4 separate regions of the Homo sapiens genome follow, and all the other regions are linked to region 1. The links are contacts of gene promoters, found by promoter capture Hi-C in human tissues and cell types (Jung and others, 2019). All regions are on one chromosome and are shown on one strand. The core of a region is centred on a gene start or on the middle of the fragment in contact, and the rest is flanking DNA. Distances in the headings are between cores, read along the strand shown.

Region 1 (5,258 bases), core at 60-2,559:
TGGCCAGGTGTGCATGCTCCGACGTGTGTGCAGTGGGCCAGTTAGCAAGAAGCTGTCACAGGTGTGACTTTGTGACATGTGTGGGTGGTCAGTTTCTTCTATGTCTGATTTGGTTTGTGTCTCTGAATGTCAGTTTCTTTCCTTTATTTTTATTTTTAAGACGGAGTTTGCTCTTGTTGCCCAGGCTAGAGTGCAATGGCACTATCTCGGCTCACTGCAACCTCCGCCTCCCGGGTTCAAGCAGTTCTCCTGCCTCAGCCTCCCAAGTAGCTGGGATTACAGGCATGCGCCACAACGCCCGGCTAATTTTGTATTTTTAGTAGAGATGGGGTTTCATCATGTTGGTCAGGCTGGTCTCGAATTCCTGACCTCAGGCAGTCCACGCACCTTGGCCTCCCAAAGTGCTGGGATTACAGGCATGAGCCACCGTGTCGGGCGAATGTCACTTTCTGATAGTTTTAATGTGTTAGCTGTGAAATTGTGTGAGTGCATTTGTGTATGTCCCTGTGGGAGTGTGATTTGGATTTGGCCGTGTATCCAGGTATCCCTGTAACAGGTGTCTGTGTGTATGTGTGTGTCCCCTGTGCCTATCAGCAAGTTTGTGTTTCCTGATAAGCACTCCGCCTATGTCTGTGTGGTTGCACCACCGTGTGTGTGGTGTGGGTGCCTGTTCGGTAGGGTTGTTTGTGAACACAGTTTGTGGGCCCAGGTGTGATCATCAGTGTGGGTGTTTCTGCAACTGTGTGTGGCCCTGTCATTGTGTCCGTCTGCTTGTCCAGGGGACCCTGTTAGTGAGTCTGTGCATTTCCGTCTGGGTGTGTGTAAGTGTGAGCCCCATCAGTATGTGAGTGTGTGTGCTCATGCCCCTGTCCATGGTGTGGATTTGCGAGACTGTGGCCTTGTGTCTGTGAGTACATCCTCTGGGCTCTGCCTGCACGTGACTTTGTGGACCCTGGAACGCCCGTCGGTCGGTCTGTGTACGCATCGCTGGGGGTGTGGATCTGTGGGTCCCAGTCAGTGTGTGTGTCCGACTGTCCCGGTGTCTGGGCGATCTCCCCACACCCCGCCGCACAGCGCCTGGGTCCTCCTTGCCTTGGGCTAGGCCCTGCCCCGTCCCCCGCTGCAGGGAAACCCCCGGCGCGGAGGTAGGGGGGGGCGCGGCGCGCGCCTGCAAGTCCTGACTTGTCCGCGGCGGGCGGGCGGGGCCGTAGCGTCACGCGGGGGCGGGGCGTGGGACCCGCCGGGCGGGGGCGGGGCGGGGCGGGGCGGGGCGGCTTTGGAGCGGGCCCGGGATCCGCCGGGCGGCCTGAGACGCGGCGCGAGCCACATGCGAGCGGGCGCCTGGCGGCGGCGGCGGCGGCACCAGCGATCCCAGCAGCGGCCACGACGCGGACGCGCCTGCGGCCCGGGGAGCAGCAGCAGCCACAGCCACAGCAGCCGCCACTGCAGTTAGAGCGGCAGCAGCAGCGACAGCCACAGCAGCAGCCGCCGCGGAGAGCGGCGCTCGGCGGGCGCGCCCTCCTGAAGGAAGCCGCCCGCCCCCCACCGCCGCCCCCTCCGGCGTGTTCATGCCCCCGGGGTGAGTGTGCGCGCCCCGAATCCTCTCCGGCGGCGATCGGCCAGGCCGGGTGGACTCCCTGGAGGAGGTGACAGGAGTGCAGGCGGAGAGCAGTGTGGGCGCCCTGCCTCCCCACACCGCGCCTCTCCAAACCCCGCGAGGGACCCTGGGCCAGGGTCGCCGGGTGAGAGGCGGCTCGGCGTTGGGGCGCCGGTCTGGGCGCACAGGTGCCTCGGCGGTCTGGCGGGTTTGTTTACAAACAATGGGGTGCGGGCTCGGCAGCGCCCCCTGGCGGCCAGTGCGGCCCCGGGGAAGAGGGTCGACCCCAGGGGTGCCCCAGCCCCCAAAGTCCGGGAGGGGCGGGGGGGCGGCACGGAGGGGCGGCCACACCCAGGGCGCGCGCCCGCTGGGGGCGGCGACGGGGGGCGGCTCGCGGGCCGTGGAGTCTGCGGCTCCTGCGGGCGGGGGCTGCGCCCCAGCAACAGCCGGTTATTGGCCCCGCGCTCGCCTGGCGGGCGGGGCGGGCGCACGTGGCGGCGGTGGGGGGGGCTGTGACAGCGGAGGGGGGTGTCTGGGACCGCCGTGGGAGCGCGCGTGTGCGGGGTTGTGGATCTGCAGGTGTCTCGCCTGGGTGTGTGCGCGTGTCTGGCTCCGAGTTTGTGCTGGGTTCTGCAGGGAGTGGTGGTGTCGATCCAGAGGAATGTTGGGGTTTCTGACCCGTCGGGGTGTCTGCGTGAGTCCCCGCGCCTGTTTGTGTGGGGTTCTGTCTGTGGGTGCCCTGCTTGTGGGGTGGGTGGACCTGCGTGTGTTGTCGGTGAGAGTTGTCTGTGTGTGCTGTTCCGGGATGATACTGGGGGTCTGTGGTGCCTGCGTGTGCTGGGGTGTGGAGGTTGTAGTGTGTGTGTGTTGCTGGAGTGAGCTGTTTGTGTGTTTATGTGTGTGTCTTGCCCGAGCGTGCGATATGTGTGCTTGTGTCTTGCCTGTGTGTTTCTGTCTTGGCTGAGGCCGTCTCTGTATCTCCGGGGCATGTGTCTTTTGCCCAGCGTTTGTGATGCTGCGCCTGCTAAATGCAAATGTCTGTTTTCTGTCCAGGTGTCTGTGTGAGTTGTCAGGTGTGAGTGTGTGTGTGTATGTATGTGTGTGGTGGGGGGTTGTTTCAGTCTGGGTTTGGCTTGTGTGTCTGGCATCAGCGTCTGGGATTTGAGGACCCAGGATCTGTGGGGTCTATGCAGTGTAGACGGTGGGTGTTGCTGGCAGCCTCTGGATGGGGTTGTGTCTGAGCCTGTGTGTGTGTGTGTGTGTTGGGTCTGAGGGGCTTGTCACTGTGATCGGCTGGCTCATGTGTGTCATGTGGGCTGCGTGTGTGTAGTGTTTATGTCAGTCACGTGAGACCAGTGTTTTCTGTGGGTGCGCTAGGTGTGTGTGCTGCTGGGCTGTGTGGGATTAGAGTTAGCTGTAGGGTGTGTGTGTGTGTGTGTTGCTGACAGTTGGTGATGATGTTTGAGGGTTGCGTGAGGAGGGTGGGTTGGTGTCTGGTGGTGTGTTGAGGTCTGATGGCATGTGTCTGTGTGTGCCTGATCTACGTGTGTCCTGAGAGTTGGTGACATGTGGGTGTGTTTTGGGGGTGTTGATGTATGTGTGTCCGTGGGTGTCTGTTTTGTGTTGATATGTGAGTCCAGAGGTGTGCAGGTCTTATCTCTGGAGTGAGTGTGTGTGTGTGGAGAGGGGCATGTTTGGGAACTGAGGCAGTGCCTAGCTTGTGTGTGTGTGTTTGTGTTTGCAAAGGCTGCATTGTGTTTGCATGTGCCCCTGGGCATATCAACAGTGGGTCAGTGTGTGAGACTTTGACAGTTTGGATGTGTGGGGATGGATTGTGCCAGCCAGTGTGCGCAGTATGTAGAGTGCTTGTGATGGTCTGTCTGGATGCTCCTGCTTTGGTCGGGGGTGTGTGTGTATTGTGTGTACTGAGTAGTGATGTCCGAGACTGGGGCCATCTCAGTGTTTGTGTGCAAGTGGGAGGTGGGGTGGGCGGTCAGGCTGGCCAGTCCCGTGTGAGTCCTTGTGTGTGTGCTGTGGGGGCCTCGCTGTGCCTCACTGCCCTCCCTGTGTGCCCGTCGCTGTGTTGGGAAAGTTGTCCCCACCAGCCCATGCTGTGAGTCCCAAGTGGAGTGAGTTTGTGTTGTGGGACTGTCACAGCCCTCATACACACACCTGCTAGACCCCTCCATCCGTCCTGTGTGAGCCCTGTCCTTGCTGTGAGAGCCGTCCTGTGCCCCCTGTCCCTCCTGTGTGCCCATCACCGTATGCACGGGAGGCTCTCCAGGCCAGCCAGGACCCGGTGGTGTCATCCCCCGGCTGGGCGTGTCTCTGTGGGGCCGTCACCCCCTCCGCATGCACACACACCTCCACTCTTCTCCATCTGGGTCCTAACCCCGGGTAGGCTGGAGGTACAGTGGGCCCTGGTACTTCCCTGCTGACCTGCTCCTCCTCCCGTGTCCCGCAGGCCCCAGGGAGCGCCATGGCCCGCGCACGCCAGGAGGGCAGCTCCCCGGAGCCCGTAGAGGGCCTGGCCCGCGACGGCCCGCGCCCCTTCCCGCTCGGCCGCCTGGTGCCCTCGGCAGTGTCCTGCGGCCTCTGCGAGCCCGGCCTGGCTGCCGCCCCCGCCGCCCCCACCCTGCTGCCCGCTGCCTACCTCTGCGCCCCCACCGCCCCACCCGCCGTCACCGCCGCCCTGGGGGGTTCCCGCTGGCCTGGGGGTCCCCGCAGCCGGCCCCGAGGCCCGCGCCCGGACGGTGAGTGCCCGCCCCGCCCCCGGGGTGATAGGAGCCGGGAAGAGAGAGGGCTGGAGACTCGGAGGAACTGGAGAAGTGGGAGAGGACGGGGGGAGGTGGCGGGCCCAGCCGGGCCACTGGGAGGGTGTGGCCAATGTGGTCTTTGTGTTGCAAGAAGCAGGAAGACGGAGGCTGGGGGTGGAGGGGGAGGTCAAGTGGGAAGTCCCTCCTGGAATCTGACTGCAGTCCCCGAATTGCAGCCCACTGTCTCTTCCGGGCCTGGGGCAACAGCTGCATCCCAGCTCCCCTCCCCCAGTCTGGGTCCTCTAGACCCCCTGGAGGATTCCTGTTGCAGGGAGAGTGGGCCGAGCGGGAGGACTGTCAACTCTGGCCTCTGGGGAGGGGTCGAGAGGCCTTTTGCTTTTATTTGCATCTCTTTGGCCAGGGGCTGTCCTCAGCAGTCCCGGCGGAGGAAGGAGAGGGGGAGGGGCCATTGTGTTGGGAAGTCCCCTCGGGGAGGTGGGGGAGTCTTGGGGAGGGAAGGGTTAAAGGTCCCCTGCCTGATGGGCTGTTAACCCTGTGGTGCCCGTGGAGCCCCATCCCTGCCGGCAGGCGCTCTAGGGAAAGTGTGTCCTGGTTTCCCATCCCCCATCTTGTCCCGGCAGCCCAAGGGGAGCGAGGAAAGAGAAAACTTCCCTAACTCAGTTCCTGGAAGCCCTGGAAGGGGACACCGATTTCAAGGCCAAGGTCACAGATGTGGAAACTGAGGCCCTGGCTGTAGGCCTTAGGGAACCCTCAGGCCAGGACCTGGTGGGACGGGAGGGCAGGAGCCTCCTAGGGCGCTCAGAAGTGGGGGGGGGGGGGGGGCAGGAAGGCATCTCCCGCGTCCCAGCCCCCCAGGCCCGCGCTCTGAAGCTGCCACAGTCTCT
Region 2 (4,710 bases), core at 933-3,432, 260 kb after region 1:
ACCTTAGGTTAAGCACCCCTACGTAAGGAACATGCCTGCTTGCACAGTCCTTCAAGTTAGAGACTGCAGGGGTGTGAGTTTGCTCTCCCCCACATTACCTGCTCTACACTGCACTGGGTTCCTCAAATCACAAATATTTCTGCAAACACCAAGGATGGCTCTTGTAGCAGCAATATCCCATAGCATTAAGAAGTGAAACACAGCTTGTGTGCAATATATTGCCAATGGAAATAGCTTAGGGCTGGGTAAGGAAAAAGAAAAATGTTGACAGACTTAAGCCAAGATGAGATCTTGAAGTGATCAAGCCCCAAGAATTCACCCTGCACCCCATGACTTTCTTTCTTTGTCCCAATCTAATTCAATCCGTGGAAAGAAAAATTCACTAATTCCTTCAATAGATACCCGAGTGCCTACTATGGGTCACAGGTAATGGAAAGAAGAGGCAGTCTTTGCCCCAATTCCTCACAGTTCAGTAGGGGAAACAGAGAAGCCAGGCAGCGGAGCAAAGGCAGCGTGGTGGCAGTGGTGGTGTGTGCAGGGGTCCAGCTCTCCTGGTGCTGCTGCCTCACTTGCCTTGGCAGGTGGGAGGGGGGTATTCACAGAAGCATTCCTAGGAAAATACAGAGGGCAGATGGAAAAACAAAGTCCTCGAATCCAGCCCAGTAACACTTGTAGCAGACAGATCCAACAATGGCATGAGTAGATCTCCTTCAGAGAACCTAGGAAAGACGTGTTGCTTCTCTGAGCTGATGACACCCCACAGAAAACAAGTCGCTGAGTGGTTATTGAGGGCAGGACTGGTCCAACCCTCTGCCCCTAGACCTCTGCAGGAGGCAAGTGCTCTCTAAGGGTCTGTGTGTCGCAGCTCACGCGGGCTGGATGCAGACGTTCACCGAAGACACTAGTGCTGTCTCCCATCCCTGGTTGCTCCTGAGAGTGGAGCAGTGCCTCAAGCAGTCCGACAGAGTGTATGTGCCAGACAGGAGAAACCACCAGGCAGTGAGGAAGCTTTGTCAGAGCAGGTCTCTTCTCCAAGGACCCACCTCAAAAAGAACACAGGCCACTGCAGACTCAGTGAAAAATTTTAAGTAGCAAACCTGGAGTAAAACATCTATCCACCTATCCTCCGTTTATTATGATTATTATTTCACAACCGTTTTATTGAGATATAATTCACACAACATACAATTCACCCACTGTGAGAGTGTCCAATTCGATGGCTGTGAGCACATTCAGAGTTGCACAAGTATCACCACAATTTTAGAGCACTGTCATCAACACCCAAAAAACTGTATCCATGAGCAGCCACTCCAAATTTCTCCCTTCTCGCAGCCCCTGGCAACCACTCATCTACTTCTTTCTATTTTTTTTTTGAGACAGTCCTGCTCTCTGGCCCAGGCTGGAGTGCAGTGGTGCAACCTTGGCTCACTGCAACCTCTGCCTTCCAGGTTCAAGAGATTCTTCCGCCTCAGTCTCCTGAATAGCTGGGATTACAGGCACACACCACTACGCCCGGCTAATTTTTGTATTTTTAGTAGAGACAGGGTTTCATCATGTTGGCCAGGATGGTCTTGAACTCCCGACCTGAGATGATCTGCCTGCCTTGGCCTCCCAAAGTGCTGGGATTACAGGTGTGAGCCACTGCACCCGGCCCACTAATCTACTTTCTATCTTTATAGATTAGCCTATTCTAGATAATTCTGTGTAAATGAGATCATGGGCCATGTGATCTTGTGTGACTAGTTTACCTCACTTAGCGTAATGTTTTCAAGGTTCATCCATCTGTAGCACGTCACTACTTTGTTCCTTTTTACGGCCGAATAATATTCTACTGTATGAATATATTATATCTCGTTATCCATTCACTCATCAGTGGGATATTTGGGTTCTTACCATTTTGGGGCTATTATGAATAATGTGGCCTCCATATTATTTTGAACCCAAATTCTGAAGTGACCTACAGATATTTCCCCAAACTCAGGAAGGATGTGTGTGACACTTTGTGGCTGGCCTCCAGCCGAGGGACAGCAGGCTTCCCATTAGCCTTGCCGGTGGATTCCCTTGCTTTCTTCCCTCCTGCTCTGCTGACCCACAGCTCCTTCTGTCCAAGCCCATTTATTTAGATATCCCACCTAAATGTTTCACACGCATGCCCTATCAGCAACACACATGCTGTGCCCCTACACTAAACACTGGGCATTTGCTCCTGCCCAGATACTGCCACCTTGCTCAAGACCTTAGTGTTATATGAATCTTCTTCCTCCTCCCTTTCTATGTATACAATTCCACGTTTCCACCACTGAATGAAGCTTTTGAGGGGAGAGGTCTCTGGAGTGTTTCTGTGCCATTCAGTCATTCATCATCATTTACTAGAGCCCTGTATGCTTGGCTTGGAGGAGACAATGAAGATGACCCGGTCCCTTCCCTCAAGGAACTTAGGATCCATTGAGGAAGGAAGACAATCAGAGTACAGTGTGCTACGTGTTCACTGGGAAAGCACAGGGCGTGACAGACATGGCAGGGAGCCCTGGCTCACAGAGCAGGTCAGAGAAGGACTCCGGGCGTGACAGACACGGCAGGGAGCCCTGGCTCACAGAGCAGATCAGAGAAGGACTCTGGGAGGGAGTCTCGAAGTGGAACAGCAAGGAAAGGCAGTGCGGGTGAGAAATATAATGGCAGCTTAAGGAACTGTGCGTAGTTTTAATCTGTGGGCTGAAGTTTAGAGTGAATGAAGGAAATGGCAAGAGGCAGAGCTAGACAGTGGGCAGGGACCACATCCTGCTGGTAAGTAGTAGGATGAAACTTCATCCTAGAGTGATACAGAACCACTGATGAGTTTTAAGCAGGTGAAGATGAAGTGATCCCATTTATTTTGGAAAGATATTTGCAGCAGTGTGCATAAGGGACTGAAAGGACATGAGACCAGAAACAGGAAGGTCAATTACAAAGAGGCTACCACAGTAAACCAAGAAGAGGGTGAGAGACTAAACGCAGGGGCAGGGGCCAGGCTGAAAACACGCTTAGGTGGTAAAAACAATGGGACTGACTGATGAGGTTGACTGGTGTGGGAAGGTAACAAGGGAGAGACCCCCTCCCCATGGAGGACATGCTGTTGACTCAGGTCAGCAGATTCTCTGGGATGAAAACCTTCAAACCCTACCTTCCCGCAAATGGTAACGGTGAGGGCTGACAAGCTTTCTCAGGAGTGAGAAAATCCTTCTTCCAAATGAAATCTTAAACTGAACCTTAAGGCTGAAGGATCCAGAGTCCTGGTGGCCTGACCTTTCCCGTCCCCATGCAGAAGGACTCCCTTACAATTCTAGGGATCTGAGAAAAAAAAAAAAAATCTGAAAAGCCCAGGCCAAGTCCAATTGCTGGAGGCTGACGTTCAAAGGATTTTAGGGCAATATGGCTACGTGGTCAGCACGGCCTCTCACCTCTACACCTGACTCTCATTCAGTTGACTTTCCACACCTAGACTATTCCTCCCATCCTGTTAGAGAATCCAGTGTATCTTTAAGGACAAGCCTCCATCCCAGACTCCAAGCAAGCAAGCTCCCTGACTTCTGCAGCACTAACCCCTGCAGCCTCATGGGCACTGGGCAAACTGACTGTGGAGAGATATTAATTTTCTCTTTGATGTGTGTAGTCATCTCCAATGGGGGCTGGCCTCAGGCTTCCTCAGGATCTTCTTGGCTTCAAAAATGCCTTGTACTTGATAGGCCAGAAATATTATTATAGACTAACTTATTACACTCACTCCATCCCATCAACCCTAGAAAGTAAGACAAACAACTGTAATGACTACACAAGAAAAAAGAGAAGAGGAAAAAAAGCAGAGAGGTGTCATGACTTTGAAATGAAGGACCATACATTACAAAGATGTTCAATTGCATTTTTTGGGGGTGGGGGACAGGGTCTTGCTTTGTTACTCAGGCTGGAGTACAGTGGTGCAACCATGGCTCACCATGGCTTCAACCTCCCACGCTCAAGTGATTCTCCTGCCTCAGTCTCCCAATCAGCCAGGACTACAGGTATGCACCAGCACACCTGATTAATTTTCTAATTTTTTGTAGAGACAGAGTCTCGATATGTTGCTGGGGCTGGTCTTGAATTCCTGGGTTCAAGCAATCCTCCTGCTTCAGCTTCCCAAAGTGTTGGGATTACAGGCATGAGCCACTGCGCCTGGCCTCAATTGCATTTTGTATATAAATAAAATAAAAATCTCAATGGAATGGTTAAAATGCACTAAATAAAATAATACCAAAAATCGTATAAATATTTTGCAAAGAAAGAAAAAAATACCAAAAATATCTTTAAAAGATCCAATAGAAAATATCACATATGGCAAACTGGAAGGTTGCAAAGTAGACCCCAGGGGCTGCTGGATGTACAAGTGAAGCTAGGTATTGAGGCTGGGGAGACTGAGGGTTTCCAACTAATACTTCCTTTATTGACTTGGTTTTGACCAGAGAAGACTAAGAGTCCTTCTAGGGGGCAATATGAACTATCTTATTCATATTTTAGCCTCCAGCATCTAATGGAACTGACACATAACAGGTGTTCAATTATTCTTTTAGGATTGTAAAAACTAAACATTGTGAGGCTAAAGAATATTCTGGCAAAGACAGCAATTATGGGAATGAAACATGGAGTTGAAAAAGATTAATCCAGGCCGAGTGCAGCAGTTCACGCCTGTAATCCCAGCAC
Region 3 (5,217 bases), core at 242-2,741, 340 kb after region 1:
ACCTCCCGGGCTCCGGTGATACACCTCAGCTGGGACTACAGGTGCACACCATCACGCCTGGCTAATTTTTTGTAGAAACAGGGTTTCACCATGTTGCCTAGGCTGGTCTGAACTCCTGAGTTCAAGTGATCCTCCCACCTAGGCCTCCCAAAGTGCTTGGGATTACAGGTGTGAGCCACTGTGCTGGGCTTCCTTATAGCTTTTTTTTTGAGACGGGGTTTCATTCTTGTCACCGAGGATGGAGTGCAGTGGCGCGATCTTGGCTCACTGAAACCTCTGCTTCCTGGGTTTAAGCGATTCTCCTGCCTCAGCCTCCCGAGTAGCTGGGACTACAGGCATGTGCCACTAAGCCCAGCCAATTACGTATTTTTAGTAGAGATGGGGTTTCACCATGTTGGCCAGGCTGGTCTCAAACTCTTGACCTCAGGAGATCCGCCTGCCTCAGCCTCCCAAAGTGCTGGGATTACAGGCATGAGCCACCGCACCTGGCCTTCCTCACAGATTTTTAAATCCACCCGGGAAGGGTAAGTATTCTCTTCATTTCACAGACAAGGGCATTGGGACCTGGAGACTAAATTATTTGCCCAAAGTCAGAGGATTCAATATGCTCTCTCCTCAATAGGATTACTGATATCACCCAAGCCTCACAGAAGAACAGAATTTCTGCCAGAGTTAACCATAAAGACCATTTCTAATTGATGGGAAATGGTCGCCTTTCAACTTCAGTAACTTGCAATTAAGGATATCATTTTACTTGCCTGAGCATTAAATTGTGAGAAAACACCAACGTGCACTTTTCTTAATTTCCCAAACCATAGAAGGGATAAGATGCTATAAGATTTTGCCCGGCTGGGCGCGGTGGCTCACGCCTGTAATCCCAGCACTTTGGGAGGCCGAGGCGGGTGGATCACGAGGTCAGGAGATCGAAGACTATCCTGGCTAACACGGTGAAACCCCGCCTCTACTAACAATACAAAAAAATTAGCCGGGCGTGGTGGTGAGCGCCTGTAGTCCCAGCTACTCGGGAGGCTGAAGCAGGAGAATGGCGTGAACCCGGGAGGTGGAGCTTGCAGTGAGCCGAGATCGCGCCACTGGACTCCAGCCTGGGTGACAGAGCGAGACTCCGTCTCAAAAAAAAAAAAAAAAGATTTTGCCCTTAAATTTCAGCTTTTTTCCCCCTCATCCAATTGCAAAAATTCATTTCTATTTACACAGAAAGTATACCTTTAAAAAAAAGTTACCAAAAAAATATGAAGCTCACTATTCTGGAAATACTCTTTCAAGGCTTCAGGAAAAGTACCTTTCCTACCAACTAGCAGTATTCACATAAATCCTAAGGGTCTGGCCCTCCTATAAGGATGATGATAAGTTAAATACTATGGGAAGAAAATCAGTCTCAAATTTAAAGGAATTAAAATGCCTGTAGTAAAAATCAGTGAGTAGGTGAAAATCTAGAAAATCTCTCTCTATTATCTCAATCTCAAGGACCATTACAAAACGGCAGAGTAAGACATGACATAGGAGACAGCAGAAAAAGATACATGGCTTTCCTTTCACTAAAAGTATGGCCGGGCGTGGTGGCTTGCACCTGTAATCCCAGCATTTTGGGAGGCTGAGGCGGGCAGATCACCTGAGGTCAGGAGTTCTAGACCAGCCTGGTCAACATGGTGAAATCCCATCTCCAATAAAAATACAAAAATTAGCTGGGTGTGGTGGCACATACCTGTAGTCCCAGCTACTCGAGAGGCTGAGGCAGGAGAATCGCTTGAACCCAGGAGGCAGAGGTTACAGTGAGCAGAGATCGTGCCACTGCACTCCAGCCTGGGCAACAGAGCGACTCCGTCTCCAAAAAAAAAAAAAAAAAAACCAAAAAACAGGATAGAGTGTAAACCAAAGTCAATTACATCTAAAGTTTTTCAAAGGAAAAAATAAAAACTGCTCCAAGGAATGAGTCATAAAGTGATATTTATAAATCAAGAATATCTTAGAAATTTCACATCATTGATCCACTCTCAAAAACTAACCTCAAGGTAAGAATCTCACTTCATCAAGTTATTTTTTCTAAGTTCACCAGATCTAAAGAAAGCTTGACTTTGTCCATGAGCTTCCAAGTAGTGTGGAAAATAATTTTCCTTGAAATCCACAGGCAAGGGATTGCATCCTAATTGCATCATTTGCTCTTTGTTTTGAGGATACTGGAGATAATTCTAAGGACAAGGGAGAGAGTTGTGCTTAAAAATACTCAGCCTAATCACAAAATGGAACCACTTCAAGAACAACTGCACCCTGAATTTATGGTAAAAAAAAATCCCAAATCAGTAGAGAAGTTTGGTTTTTCCCTGACAAGCAGCCTTCACCAATATAAAGTTGTATTTAAGAATAATGGCAGAGACAGTTTGAAATCTTAAAAAAAAAAAAAAAAAAAGAGAAAGAACGAACGAACGAACTTATGTTAAGGCAGAAACAAAATATCCAAAATATCCATAAATAAATGGACTTCCCCCCCAATACATTTTTCACTGGTGAAGATGATATTACAAACCTACATCCCAATCTAGCTAAAGGATCACTTATTGAAAGATTTAAGTCCCCAAATCTACCTAAACCCTGGGATCATTAGTTCATACTCCTATTGGTACAATTCAATTTTAAACTTTTAAAAAACCTAAGTCAAAACCAAGGGGGGCAAAACCAAGGGGGGAGAGAAGTATTCATAATAAACAAGGTAAGTGTGTTTTATAATCTTTAAAGTGCTTTCTCATTTGATCCTCAAAACAATCCCAAGCAGAAGTTGGTGCCCATTCTTCAGATGACAGAATCACAGCATTTTAAGGCTAGAAAGGACTAACTTCCCACCCAATGCTTCCCACTAGAAAAGAAGGGGTCTTGTCTGGTGGCAACCTACTATATTCCCAGGACCTAGAGTAGTACCTGGTATACGGTAGATGCTCATCAACATCACCTCTATTATATGTTCAAAAAGTCCAACCCGAACAGTTTTTGAAGGTGTTAACTCCAGTCCAGAAGTGATATGACCTGGCCAAGACCTTATGGCTGGCTACCTGTTCCCCACACTCCTGCTTCCTAACTCAGGGCAGGCTCCTCCCCCTATTCAGGTTGTCAGTGAAACTCTAAGGGTTTCCCAAGCTCCCCCGCAGAATTCACTGGTATCTGAAAATTTTAATTTATAGCCTTCTCCCTTACACAGGTGTTTGTTTCCTTCATATGTATCACTCTTCACTTAGTTCCACAACCCTTTATTTAGCACCTACCATGTGCAAAGGACCATGACGGTGAAGGATCCGAAGATGAGAGTCAGTGCTCTCCAGGGAGTTATAAGCTGATGAGAACTCTAAAAGGCAACACCAGGAAGCTCTGATGCATGGAGAACTGGACTTACAAATGTTGGGAGAAGAGATACTCTAGGCAGAGGGACCTCATGAACATACAAAGCCTGAACACAGTGTTCAGGAAAAAGCAAGTGGTCCGGCCTGATTGCAAGGTACAGTGCAGAGACGCCCCAACTCAGAATCAACCTATGGAAAGAACTATGAGGACAAGCAGCTAACAATTATTTAGGTGGTTTCTTACTTCTTACTTCCTCCTGATACCACTTTCCTTTATACTTGTCCCACCTACTCCTGGCAGAAAAAAAAAAAAAAAAAGCAGCCAACAAAAACTTCTGAATATTCTCCCTGTATCTTCATTACATACTTCGTACTTTAGAAAATTGCTCTCAGTAATATCTTATTATAATGGACAATTTCAGGATCAAAGGTACCAACTGTGGCTCCATACCCACCCAACAGGTCCATTAACCAATTTTTTTTTTTTTTTTTTTTTGAGACAGGGTTTCACTGTTACCCAGGCTGGAGTACAGTGGCGTGATCATGGCTCACTACAGCCTAGACTTCCCTCCAGTGATCCTCCCACCTCAACCTCCCAAGTAGCTAGGACTACAGGTGTGTGCCAGCACACCTGGCTTTTTTTTTTTCTTTTTTTTTTTTTTGAGACAAAGTCTCGCTCTGTCGCCCAGGCTAGGTGCAGTGGTGCGATCTCGGCTCACTGCAACCTTTGCCTCCCGGGTTCAAGTGATTCTCCTACCTCAGTCTCCCAAGTAGCTTGGATTACAACAGGCATGCCACCAGGCCTGGCTAATTTTTCTTTTTTTTTTTTTTTTTTTTTTTTAGTAGAGACAGGGTTTCACTACGTTGGCCAGGCTGGTCTCGAACTCCTGACCTCAGTGATCTGCCTGCCTCGGCCTTCCAAAGTGCTGGGATTACGGTTGTGAGTCACTGTGCCCGGCCAACACCTGGCTAATTTTTGTATTTTCGGTAAAGACAGGATTTCATCACGTTGCCCAGGCTGGTCTCGAACTCCTGAACTCAAGCAATCTGCCTGCCTCGGCTTCCCAAAGTGGTGGGATTAAGGCGTGAGCCATCGCGCCTGGCCAGTTAACCAATTCTTAATCTTTTGGCAGTTAAGAATCCCTTTGACAATCTGATAAAAACTTGAACACTTTCTCCCAGAAAATAGAATGGACTTACACAAAAAATTCAGGAACCCTGGATTAAGAACCTTTGCCCTGGCCGGGCACAGTGGCTCATGCCTGTAATCCCAGCACTTTGGGAGGCTCAGGCGGGCAGATCACGATGTCAAGAGATTGAGACCATCCTGGCCAACATGGTGAAACTCCGTCTCTACTGAAAATACAAAAATTAGCTGGGCATGGTGGTGCTAGCCTGTAGTCCCAGCTACTTGGGAGGCTGAGGAAGGAGAATCGCTTGAACCCGGGAGGCGGAGGTTGCAGTGAGCCGAGATTGCACCACTGCACTCCAGCCTGGTTACAGAGCGAGACTCCATCTAAAAAAAAAAAACAAAAAAAAAAAACTTGCCCTAGCAAAAAGCCTAAGAAAAGTGGCCAAAAATGAGAGATTGAGCCACTGTTTCTAACTAGGAATTCCAAACTCCCCCATTCACATAAGTAGAATACTCCTTCTTCTGCACAACATAATAATTATCCTTAATGAATCAATAAAGTGAGGGAATTCCTCCATGGTTTATAATCCTCACCTGCTAGTAACAATACAACTTCCATTTATTGGGCTCTACTATGTGGCAGAAGTCCTGGAGGGCGGGTGATAGTTATATCCCCATTTTGTACATCAGAAAACCAAGGCTCAGAGGTATCAACTGACCTGGCCAAGGCTACCCAGA
Region 4 (5,250 bases), core at 1,939-4,438, 450 kb after region 1:
GGGGCCTGAAGGGGAGCTGCTTATCCGCTTCTTCAACTCCTTCAATGAGGCCACCATGGTTCTGGTCTCCTGGATCATGTGGTAGGTGGTGGGAGAGGAGGCTGGGGGTGGGTGGGGTTGGAGGGTCGGTCTGCTGCCAGAGGCAGGTGCGGGGCATTCTGTTTGGGATGGGGCACCCTCTATTCACTCTTTGGAGCCAGATGACCTGCATTTAAATCCAGCATTGACCATTCCCTGTCTATGTGATTTTAGGCAAGTGATTTTCCTTCTCTGCTTCAGTTTCCTCATCTATAAAATGGGAACGGCACTTTGGGAGGAGGTGGGTGGATCACTTGAGATCAGGAGTTCAAAACCAGCCTGGCCAACATGGTGAAACCCCATCTCTACTAAAAATACGAAAAAATTAGCCAGGCATGGGGACACGCACCTGTAATCCCAGTTACTCGGGAACCTGAGGTATGAGAATCACTTAAGCCTGGGAGGCGGAAGTTGCAGTAAGCGGAGATCATGCCACTGCCTGGGCGACAGAGGGAAACTCTGTCTCAAGAAGAAAAGAAAAGAAAGTGAATACGGTACACGGAAGGTCTTAGGACAGTGCCTGGCTTATTGCGTGCCTACAGTAAATCCTAGTAGCTAATATTTATTGGGCTTTTTGCTTGTATAACTTCTGGATACTTCCCACTGGCCAGAACTTGGGTATCTAGCCTCCCTTCTCTGCACAAGTGGCTGGGAAAATATGCCTTTCTTCTGTGACTTACAAGAAGGGACTGGGGAGATAACTAGTCAGTGATGATGGATGGGCGACCGATGATCGAGTAGTCTAGGGAAGTGATGTTGGGAGGCTTTTATTTTATTTTATTTTTTTGAGATGGAGTTTCGTTCTTGTTGCCCAGGCTGGAGTGCAATGACGTGATCTCAGCTCACTGCAAACTCCGCCTCCCGGGTTCAAGAGATTCTCCTGCTTCAGTCTCCCGAGTAGCTGGGATTACAGGCATGCGCCACCATGCCCGGCTAATTTTGTATTTTTAGTAGAGACGGGGTTTCTCCATGTTGGTCAGGCTGGTCTCAAACTCCCGACCTCAGGTGATCCGCCCACCTCGGCCTCCCGAAGTGCTGGGATTACAGGCGTGAGCCACCGCGCCCGGACTTGGGAGTCCTCTTGGCTTGGAGCCATCCCTGGGATCTTCACAGCAGGAGAGGGTGATAATAAACCCACCTGAAGTTTACAGATCACTTATTGTCTGTAAAAAGCTTTAGCTCCTTTCAACTGGCATCTCATTGCATCCTCCCAGCATTCCCGTGAGGAATCTATTGGGTGTTGTGTAATCTGCAATCTGACTCATAGGACCTCCCTCCGGGGGTTGCTGGGAAGATTCAACATCATGTTCAAGGGCAGAGCACATCGCAAATGCTTCATACCTGGGAGTTGTTATTAAGACCCAGGCCATGGTCTTTCTAAAATTTGTATTTATTTTATTTATTTATTTATTTAGAGACAGAGTCTTGCTCTGTCGCCCAGGCTGGAGGTGCAGTGGCACAGTCTCAGCTCACTGCAATGTCTGCCTCCCATGTTCAAGTGATTCTCCTGCCTCAGCCTCCTGAGCAGCTGGGACCAAAGGCACGAACCACCATACCCAGCTAATTTTTGTATTTTTAGTAGAGACAGGGTTTTGCCATGTTGGCCAGGCTGGTCTCAAACTCCTGACCTCAAGCGATCCGCCCTCTTCGGCCTCCCAAAGTGCTGGGATTACAGGTGTGAGCCACCGCTCCTGGCCTTCAAATTTTTATTTTAAAAATGTGTGTTTTGGCTGGTTGTGGTACCTCACACCTGTAATCCCAGCACTTTGGGAGGCTGAGGGGGGAGGATTGCTTGAGGCCAGGAGTTAGAGACTAGCCTGGTCAACATGGCGAAAAACCCTCTCTACAAAAAAATACAAATATTAGCTGGGAATGGTGGTGTACACCTTTAATCCTAGCTACTACTCAGGAGGCTGAGGCATGAAAATCGCTTGAACCTGGGAGGCAAAGGTTGTAGTGAGCCAAGATTGCAACAGTACACTCCAGCCTGGGCAACAGAACGAGACTGTCTAAATAATAATAATAATAGTAATTTAAAAAAACGTTTTTTGAACTAGGATCTCGCTCTGTTGCCTAGGTTGGAGTGCAGTGTGGCATGATCACAGCTCACTGCAGCCCGGACCTCCTGGGTTCAGGTGATCCTCCCACCTCAACCTCCTAAGTGGCTGGGACTACAGACCCCAGCCACAAAGCCTAGCTCATTTTTTTTGTTGTTGTTGTTTAAGAAACTGGGTGGCCCAGTACGGAGGCTCATGCCTATAATCCCAGCACTTTGGGAGGCTGAGGCAGGCAGATCACGAGGTCAGGAGATCGAGACCATCCTGGCTAACACAGAAAAACCCTGTCTCTACTAAAAATACAAAAAATTAGCTGGGCGTGGTAGCACGCGCCTATAGTCCCAGCTACTTGGGAGGCTGAGGCAGGAGAATCGCTTGAACCTGGGAGGCGGAGGGTGCAGTGAGCCGAGATCATGCCACTGCACTCCAGCCTGGGCAACAGAGTGAGACTCCATCTCAAAAAAAAAAAAAGAGAGACATGTTGCCCAGGCTGGTCTTGAACTCCTGGGCTCAAGCGATCTGTCTGCCTTCACCTCCCTGCATGCTGGGATTACAGGTATGAGCCACCGTGCCTGGCCTATTTTTATTTTTTGTAGAGACTGGGTCTCGCTGTGTTGCCCAAGCTGGTCTCGAGAACTCCTGGCCTCAAGTAATCCTCCTGCTTTCACCTCCTAAAGTGCTGGGATTATAGGCATGAGCCACTGTGCCCAGCCTCTTTATCTTTCATCATCTGCAGAGAGCGTATTGGCTCAAGTCATGCTAGCTGCCATAGCAAACCAACCCAGGAAGTGTGAATGGCGCACCTTGATGGACATTTCTTTCTGTCTCCCATGTGAAGTCCAAATCTGGTGACTGCTTCACATGGTGATGGAAGCACTGAGACTTTTTTTTTTTTTTTTTTTTTGAGATGGAGTTTCACTCTTGTTGCCCAGGCTGGAGTGCAATGGCATGATCTTGGCTCACAGCAACCTCTGCCTCCCTGATTCAAGCAATTCTCCTGCCTGAGCCTCCCAAGTAGCTGGGATTGCAGGCATGCGCCACCACGCCTGGTTAATTTTGTATTTTTAGTAGAGACGGGGTTTCTCCATGTTGGTCAGGCTGGTCTTGAACTCCCGACCTCAGGTGATCCACCCACCTCAGCCTCCCAAAGTGCTGGGATTACAGGCATGAGCCACCGTGCCCGGCCTGCACGGAGAGTTTTATCTCCGGGCTGCTCTACCTTTGAGGGGAAAGAGAGCATGAGATTGGCATGGGGGCTTCAGGGGCCAGGCCTGGGAGTGGTGCCCATGCTGAAGCACACATTGCTGGGGCTTCTCCTGACCTCAGGAAGGCAGGAAGATGTGGGTAGGGTGCTGAGCCTCACGCCTGGCCACTGGGCCCGTGGAAGAGGCAACAAGCTGTCTCCTGTGTTACTGATCAGGTACGCCCCTGTGGGCATCATGTTCCTGGTGGCTGGCAAGATCGTGGAGATGGAGGATGTGGGTTTACTCTTTGCCCGCCTTGGCAAGTACATTCTGTGCTGCCTGCTGGGTCACGCCATCCATGGGCTCCTGGTACTGCCCCTCATCTACTTCCTCTTCACCCGCAAAAACCCCTACCGCTTCCTGTGGGGCATCGTGACGCCGCTGGCCACTGCCTTTGGGACCTCTTCCAGGTACGGCCTTGGGGTGGGCTAGGGTGGGATGTTTAATCCGCTAAGCGGCATGGAGCGGATGAAATTTTCTCTGCCCGGGACATTGTATCTGGGTACAGGGGCCATACTTCAGGAGATTCTCATAAGGTCCTGGATTTATCCCCACCCTTAAAAAGATAGGAAATGATTGCCCTAGAGATTTATTTCCCTCTTTCTTACACTGCCTCCCCGTGGCCCTGGAGGCACTCTTTTTTTTCTTTTGTTTTAAACAATGGCGTCTCGCTCTGTTGCCCAGGCTGGAGTGTAGTGGTGTGATCTCAGCTCACTGCAACCTCTGCCTCCTGGGTTCAAGTGATTCTCTGCCTCAGCCTCCCGAGTAGCTGGGACTGCAAGTGTCCCCCACCATACCCAGCTAATTTTTGTGTTTTTAGTAGAGACGGGGTTTCGCCATGTTGGCCAGGCTGGTCTCAAACTCCTGGCCTCAAGTGATCCGCCCACCTTGGCCTCCAAAAGTGCTGGGATTATAGGTGTGAGCTGCCATGCCCCTGGGGGGCTCTTAAGTTCTGCTCTGATTCAACCTCAGAACTCCTTCCACCGTCTCTCCTGGGCATTTCATTCATCCCTGCTGGCCCTGTCCCCTCCCAAGACAATAGTAATTCTTAGTGTATTATTGGTGAGAGTCAGCAGGACCCAGACAGTAGAATTTAGGTGTGAATTGTGTGGGTATTTTGGGAGGTAGTAGTCTATACTCTCCCAGGGGTTCCAGGACTCATGGATTTTGTAATCCTGGTATTGAGTTCCCTAGTGCTGCCTGCTTGTGGGAAAAGAGCTTAGATATAGCAAGTGAGGGCTGGGGGTGGAGTCAGGACATGGTAGGAGGGAAGGGGGGTCTAGGTTAGATGTGGGGGCCTTGGGCCAAGGGACAGACTGGGGACGTGGGTGGGACTTCGGCTGGGCAGGTGGTATGGGCAGGATCTGGTGGGCGGGGCTTTGGCTGGGCAAGTGGTATGGGCGGGATCTGGGTGGGCGGGGCTTTGGCTGGGCAGGTGGTGTGGGTGGGCTCTGGGTGGGCGGGGCTTCAACTGGGTGGGTGGTGCAGGTCAGACCTGGAGGGTGGTTGGGTGACAGGGCTTTGCTTAGGCAGGCTCTGGTGGGGATCCACTGGGTGGGGTGGGTGGGGCTTTGGCTGGTTGGGGTGGGGTAGGCGAGGCCTCACCTGGGCTGGACCTGGAGGGTGGGCGGAGCCCCGGTCAGCAGGTTAACCTAACTCAGCTCCCCCATCCCTTGCAGTTCCGCCACGCTGCCGCTGATGATGAAGTGCGTGGAGGAGAATAATGGCGTGGCCAAGCACATCAGCCGTTTCATCCTGCCCATCGGCGCCACCGTCAACATGGACGGTGCCGCGCTCTTCCAGTGCGTGGCCGCAGTGTTCATTGCACAGCTCAGCCAGCAGTCCTTGGACTTCGTAAAGATCATCACCAT

What was found. Contacts are between HindIII fragments. The study calls those that stand out against the background at their distance.
Region 2: a contact is called between a fragment that was not itself captured here and the fragment with the promoter of BBC3 in region 1, in 3 of the 25 tissues and cell types used here (bladder, liver and stomach).
Region 3: a contact is called between a fragment that was not itself captured here and the fragment with the promoter of BBC3 in region 1, in 1 of the 25 tissues and cell types used here (hippocampus).
Region 4: a contact is called between a fragment that was not itself captured here and the fragment with the promoter of BBC3 in region 1, in 1 of the 25 tissues and cell types used here (IMR-90 fibroblasts).

The regions. Positions count from the first base shown.
Region 1 is chr19:47,227,250-47,232,507 of GRCh38, reverse strand. BBC3 (BCL2 binding component 3) reads left to right here and starts at 1,309. Exons shown (of 4, transcript NM_014417.5): 1 at 1,309-1,579; 2 at 4,062-4,350. The coding sequence starts at 4,077. RefSeq lists enhancers at 1-42, 1-92, 802-921, 4,484-5,258 and silencers at 1,062-1,291, 1,432-2,151, 4,012-4,451. The HindIII fragment of the contact is 48,720 bases long and covers 1-5,258 here.
Region 2 is chr19:46,965,748-46,970,457 of GRCh38, reverse strand. All of the region lies in intron 3 of ARHGAP35 (Rho GTPase activating protein 35), which reads right to left. Among named protein-coding and RNA genes, the nearest start is that of NPAS1, 52 kb to the left of the region's middle. The HindIII fragment of the contact is 4,877 bases long and covers 1-4,620 here.
Region 3 is chr19:46,891,095-46,896,311 of GRCh38, reverse strand. All of the region lies in intron 1 of ARHGAP35 (Rho GTPase activating protein 35), which reads right to left. Among named protein-coding and RNA genes, the nearest start is that of ARHGAP35, 33 kb to the right of the region's middle. RefSeq lists a silencer at 3,238-3,317. The HindIII fragment of the contact is 4,402 bases long and covers 1-3,692 here.
Region 4 is chr19:46,777,214-46,782,463 of GRCh38, reverse strand. It overlaps SLC1A5 (solute carrier family 1 member 5), which reads left to right. Exons shown (of 8, transcript NM_005628.3): 4 at 1-81; 5 at 3,556-3,789; 6 at 5,059-5,250. Among named protein-coding and RNA genes, the nearest start is that of SLC1A5, 8.8 kb to the left of the region's middle. The HindIII fragment of the contact is 7,318 bases long and covers 1-5,250 here.